2 separate regions of the Homo sapiens genome follow, and region 2 is linked to region 1. Evidence: promoter capture Hi-C in 16 types of primary human blood cells and fetal thymus (Javierre and others, 2016). All regions are on one chromosome and are shown on one strand. Each heading gives the region's core, a stretch centred on a gene start or on the middle of the fragment in contact. The rest is flanking DNA. Distances are from core to core; before and after follow the strand shown. Region 1 holds the start of IL3 (interleukin 3). Region 2 overlaps MEIKIN (meiotic kinetochore factor).

Evidence for each region. Contacts are between HindIII fragments. The CHiCAGO score rates a contact against its expected background, and 5 or more counts as called.
Region 2: a fragment that was not itself captured here is called in contact with the fragment with the promoter of IL3 in region 1 in 1 of 17 cell types (megakaryocytes); the score reaches 5.2 in megakaryocytes.

The regions. Positions count from the first base shown.
Region 1 is chr5:132,059,261-132,062,386 of GRCh38, forward strand. It overlaps IL3 (interleukin 3), which reads left to right and starts at 1,395. Exons shown (of 5, transcript NM_000588.4): 1 at 1,395-1,608; 2 at 1,707-1,748; 3 at 3,052-3,126. The coding sequence starts at 1,447. LOC105379174 (a long non-coding RNA gene) reads right to left here. Exons shown (of 5, transcript XR_001742531.2): 2 at 2,211-2,348. The HindIII fragment of the contact is 14,005 bases long and covers 1-3,126 here.
Region 2 is chr5:131,812,809-131,815,763 of GRCh38, forward strand. The region is part of intron 12 of MEIKIN (meiotic kinetochore factor); the gene reads right to left. Among named protein-coding and RNA genes, the nearest start is that of FNIP1, 17 kb to the left of the region's middle. The HindIII fragment of the contact is 7,329 bases long and covers 1-2,955 here.

The DNA.
Region 1 (3,126 bases), core at 145-2,644:
TTCACCTGATCTGCTTATGCTCAGAAGCCCAAAGCACCCAAATTCCGCTGCCTCAGCATAACCTCCTATCCCGCATCCCCCACACTGATCACAACACACCGCACCATGACCCAGACCCTGGCCTTTCCTTACTGCTCTCCTCTCCCTCCCACCCGGGGCCAGTCATCTTGAAGAAGTCTTCCACATGCCCCTGTCACACTCATCCCTTTACCAAAAGCCCCTACCCCATGGGGTGGGTCAGGCAGGCCCCAAGACAGGCCCGTATCAGGAGGACCCCTCTTCTCTCAGGGGCTGCCCTCTGGGATAACCACCCCCGCCCTTCTGGGTTTCCTGCTTCCTATCTGGCTGCAGTTTCTCAGGTCCCTTGTGGATTTCCCCATGGTCTGTCCCCACTCACATCCCCTCTCTGCAAACCTTGCCTACTGGGCCTGCACCTGGCAAATCCATGCTCAGCACAGACGGGGATCAAGACCTCTCAATACAACTGTCTCCTGCCAATCCCTGCCCCAGCAGCCTGAGGCCCAGTCTGAAACCAGGGAGTTGCTCTCCTTTCTCCTCCCTTGACCTCACCCCTCAGACCATGCCAATTCTGCCTCCTAAACCTCCCAGGCCAGCCCCTCCCCCAGCTCCCAGTGACAGTGTCCTCAGGTACCTGAGCTCAGCTCTCGGTGCTACCAGAGGGACTGCCAGGGGCTGCAGCCGGGCCTCCTGCAGAGGCTGAGTCCCACACGCAGGGAACAGCCATGCCACTGCTAGCAGACCAGTAAGAGAATGGCCACCTGGGGCCTGAGCGCCCTCGGCCATCCACCAGAAACAAAGTGTCAAGGAGAAGCTGCCCGAAGCCCATGGGACAAACCACTGGGGACTGGAACACCAGTAATTCTGTATTGGGAAGCGGCACCAAGAGATGTGCTTCTCAGAGCCTGAGGCTGAACGTGGATGTTTAGCAGCGTGACCGGCTACCAGACAAACTCTCATCTGTTCCAGTGGCCTCCTGGCCACCCACCAGGACCAAGCAGGGCGGGCAGCAGAGGGCCAGGGTAGTCCAGGTGATGGCAGATGAGATCCCACTGGGCAGGAGGCCTCAGTGAGCTGAGTCAGGCTTCCCCTTCCTGCCACAGGGGTCCTCTCACCTGCTGCCATGCTTCCCATCTCTCATCCTCCTTGACAAGATGAAGTGATACCGTTTAAGTAATCTTTTTTCTTGTTTCACTGATCTTGAGTACTAGAAAGTCATGGATGAATAATTACGTCTGTGGTTTTCTATGGAGGTTCCATGTCAGATAAAGATCCTTCCGACGCCTGCCCCACACCACCACCTCCCCCCGCCTTGCCCGGGGTTGTGGGCACCTTGCTGCTGCACATATAAGGCGGGAGGCTGTTGCCAACTCTTCAGAGCCCCACGAAGGACCAGAACAAGACAGAGTGCCTCCTGCCGATCCAAACATGAGCCGCCTGCCCGTCCTGCTCCTGCTCCAACTCCTGGTCCGCCCCGGACTCCAAGCTCCCATGACCCAGACAACGCCCTTGAAGACAAGCTGGGTTAACTGCTCTAACATGATCGATGAAATTATAACACACTTAAAGCAGCCACCTTTGCCTTTGCTGGTGAGTAGCTTGGATAAGACTGGCCTGCAGCAGTGAGGGGTGGTGGCTGCCTAAGGCCAAAAGGCCTCATGGGCCTTTCTCTCCCTTCACCCCCACAGGACTTCAACAACCTCAATGGGGAAGACCAAGACATTCTGATGGTAAGAGCTCAGCCCGTGGATCCCGATCCACTTCCTGCCTGGGTGACTTCAGCCATGTCATTCCATCTTACCTAGCCTTGCTTTCTTCATCTGTAAAATAGGGTTAATAGCACCTATCTCAGTGGGATTGTTATGACAATCAAATGGCACAATGTGCATGTTCTGGCCCAGCATCTGGCACTTAAGAGTTCAATACATGGCCACAGCCATGGCTATAATAATGAAAATGACTTTTAAATTAGAAAATGAAAAGGCAGTTCTAGGTGAGGAATACCAAGGGCCTTAAGGTCAGTGTTTGGTAGGGCAGACTCTGGACTGACAGACAGAAATTTCCCCCTCAGATGTGCCAGCTTCTTTTTCCCTTAAAAAATTGAGTTTGTGTTTTCCACCCTCATTGGCTGTGGCATTATCATTTACAGTTATTTTTCATGGTTCCAGTTGGTTGCAGTTGTTCTGTCTCACCTTTGCATGACATTTCTTGGGTCAAACAAGAAGTGGAAGCCTTTGCTGAGTTCCTGGGCCATCTGTGTTTGGGGCACTCACAGCTCACATGCTGCACCCATTTCCATGCTGGGGTCTCTGTGATTTTCTTCTTGATTTCTAGGAGACTTTAATTCAGTCAGGGCATGAACACTGTTATCAGCCTCTGAGCTACAAATACTTCCCTTGGAAAACCCCCTGTCTTTTGTAGAGCTTCTTTTTGGAGATATTTTTTCCCCCAAGTGCAGAAAGATCCACCTAGGTACCCCCTCCCCACCCATTTTTTTTTTTTTTTTTGAGACAAGAGTCTCACTCTGTTGCCCAGGCTGGAGTGCAGTGGCACGATCTCAGCTCACTGCTACCTCTGCCTCCTGAGTTCAAGCAATTCTCCTGTCTCAGCCTCCCAAGTAGCTAGGATTACAGGCATGCACCACCACTCCCATTTTTGTATTTTTAGTAGAGACGGGGTTTCACCATATTGGTCAGGCTGGTCTTGAACTCGACCTCAGGTTATCTGCCTGCCTCGGCCTCCCAAAGTGCTGGGATTACAGGCTTGAGCCACTGCGCCCAGCCCACCTAGGCCCTTTATGTAGCTCAAATGGAGCCAGAGACTGGGGGCTTGAGGAAACCAGGTCCTGCCTGCCACTCACTTCTAGGCCTGTGCCCTTGGGCAGGGACCCACCTGAGGCAAGAACGGGACTAGGAGGGAACCCGAGGATGTCCCCAACAGTGGGCTTGGGAAACTGTGGGGGTGACTTCCACCTGCTTGTGGGAGGGATACTCTGTAACCTTTCCCCCTTAAGTGTATTCTCTGCCCCGTTAGGAAAATAACCTTCGAAGGCCAAACCTGGAGGCATTCAACAGGGCTGTCAAGAGTTTACAGAACGCATCAGCAATT
Region 2 (2,955 bases), core at 301-2,800, 250 kb before region 1:
TCCCTGCAGGTGACTCCCAGGGTGAACCTTTAGGATTTTGGAGTGAAGTCCTTCCATCCTCAGTGGAAAACTACTCTTTTGAGAAACAGCTTTTGGCTTATTGCCAAATTTTAGTAGCAACTAAGCACTTAATCATAGGCCATCAAGTTACCATGTGACCCACACTGCCTATCATGAACTATGTGCTGTCTGACCTACCAAGTCATAAATTTGGTGTTAATGGCAGCACTCCATTATCAAATGGAAGTGGTTTATGTAAAATTGAGCTTGAGCAGGCCCTGAAGTCATAAGTAAGTAACATGAGGAAGTGACCCAAATGTCCATGGCCCCCACCCTGGCTACATTACCTTTTTTCTCACTGCCTGCTCTGAAGATGACATGAGGAGTTCTCTACAATCAGTTGACTGAGGAAGAGAAAACTCATATTTGATTTACAAATGGTTCTCTATGATATGCAGGTACTGCCTTAAAGTCGACAGTTAGAGCACCTACAATTTCTTTCTGGGACATCCCTAAAGGAAATTGGTGAAGATAAGTCCTCCCAGTGGGCAGAACTGAGAGGAGTGCACCCGGTTGTGTGCTTTGTTGAAAGGAGAAATAACCAGATATTTAACTATATTCTTTTTTTTTTTTTTTGAGACAGAGTCTTGCTTTGTCACCCAGGCTGGAGTGCAGTGGCATGATCTTGGCTCACTGAAAGCTCCGCCTCCCGGGTTCACGCCATTCTCCTGCCTCAGCCTCCTGAGTAGCTGGGACTACAGGCACCCGCCACCATGCCCGGCTAATTTTTTTGTATTTTTAGTAGAGACGGGGTTTCACTGTGTTAGCCAGGACGGTCTCGATCTCCTGATCTCATGATCCGCCCGCCTCAGCCTCCCGAAGTACTGGGATTACAGGCTTGAGCCACCGTGCCCAGCCGATCTTTAACTGTATTCTAGAGTGGTAGCCAATGATTTGGCTGTATGGTCAGGGACTTGGAAAGAACATTGTATTAGTCAGGGTTCTCTGAAGGACAGAACTAATACAATATATATACATAAAAGGGAGTTTATTAAGGAGTATTAACTCACATGATCGCAGAGTCCCACAATAGGCCATCTGCAAGCTCAGGAGCAAGGAAGCCAGTCCGAGTCCCAAAGCTGAAAAACTTGGAGTTCGATGTTAGAGGGCAGGAAGCATCCAGCATCAGAGAAAGATGTAGGTTGGGAGGCTAAACCAGTCTAATCTTTTCACATTCTTCTGCTTGCTTTTATTCTGGCATGCTGGTAGCTGATTAGATAGATGATGCCCACCAAATTGAGGGTGAGTCTGCCTCTCCCAGTCCACTGACTCAAATGTTAATCTCCTTTGGCAATACCCTCACAGACACACACAGGAACAATACTTTGCATCCTTTAATTCAATCAAGTTGACACTCAGTAATCCATCACAAGTGGACTGAAAAATTTGAAAGGAGGCATTGGACAGATCTTTTTTTTTTTTTTTTGAGACAGGATCTCACTCTATTGCTCAGGCTGCAGTGCAGTGGCGTGATTACAGCTTACTGCAGCTTCCACCTCCTCGGGCTCAGGTGATCCTCCCACCTCAGCCTCCCAAGTAGCTGGAACTACAGGAGTGCACCACCACACCTGGCTAATTTCTGTATTTTTTTGAAGAGATGGTTTCACAATGTTGCCCAGGCTGGTCTCAAACTCTTGGGCTCAAGCGATCCACTCGCCTCAACCTCCCAAAGCGGTGGGATTACAGGCATGAGCCATCACACCCACCCAGGACAGACCTCTCTCAATGGGAAAAAAAAGAAAAGAAGAAAAGAAAAGAAGGATGTATGCCATAAAATTCTCACCAAAGGTGATCTTAGCAGAGGAGGATTTTAATAATGAAGTGAATATAGGATAATCAAGTCTGTGGAAACCAGTCAGTCTCTATTCCAGCCACCTCTGTCAGAACAGGGCTGGGGAAAGAGGCTAACTGGTATCCTCTTTGTTCATGGCTCATGAACAAAGTGGCCACAGTGGCAAGAATGGAGGTCATACATAGGCTCAGCAATATGGATTTCCACTATCCAAGGCCAACCTGGATGCCACTGCTGAGGGCCCAACCAGTCAGCAGCAGACAACAACACTGACTCCAAGTATGGCACTATTCCTCTGGGTGCTCAGTCAGCTTTGTAGTTGATTACATTGAACTACTTCCATCATGGAAGGGGTAGCATTTTGTTCTTACTAGAACAGACCCTCGATACAGATTTGCCTTCCTCATACAAAATTCTGCCAAAATTGTCATCCATGGTCTCATGGAATGCTTTACCCATTGTCATATTCCATACAACATTGCTTCTGATCAAGGAACTCACGTCACAGCAAAAGAATTTCAGTATGAGTCATTGCTCCTGGAATTCACTGGTCTATGTTCCTTATCATGCTAAAGAAGCTGGCCTAATAGGATGATGGGATGGCCTTTTGAAGATTCAGTTATAGCACCAGCTAGGTGGCAATAACTTGCAGGGAGGGCAGAGTTCTCCAGAGGGCTATATATATGCTCTGAATCAGCATCCAATAAATGGTACTTTTTTTCCCTCCATAGCCAGGAATCAAGGGGTAGAAACAAAAGTGGCACCATGCATTATTAACCCTGGTGACCCACTAGCAAAATTTATTCTTCCTGTTCTCATAATTTTATGCCCCACTGGCTTAGAGGTCTTAGTTCCAAAGGGAGAAATTCCTCCACAGGAGACTAATTCTATTAAACTGGAAGTTAAGACTGCCCCCAGTCACTTTGGAGTCAATAGGCTAAGAAGCGACTTACGGTGTTGACTGGGGCGACTGATCCGGACTACCAAGGAGAATCTGAACTACTACTCCACAATGGTGGTAAGGAAGAATATGTCTGGAACACAGGAGATCTCTTAGGGTATCTGTTAATTTTATCATACCCTGTGATTAACGTTAATGGAAA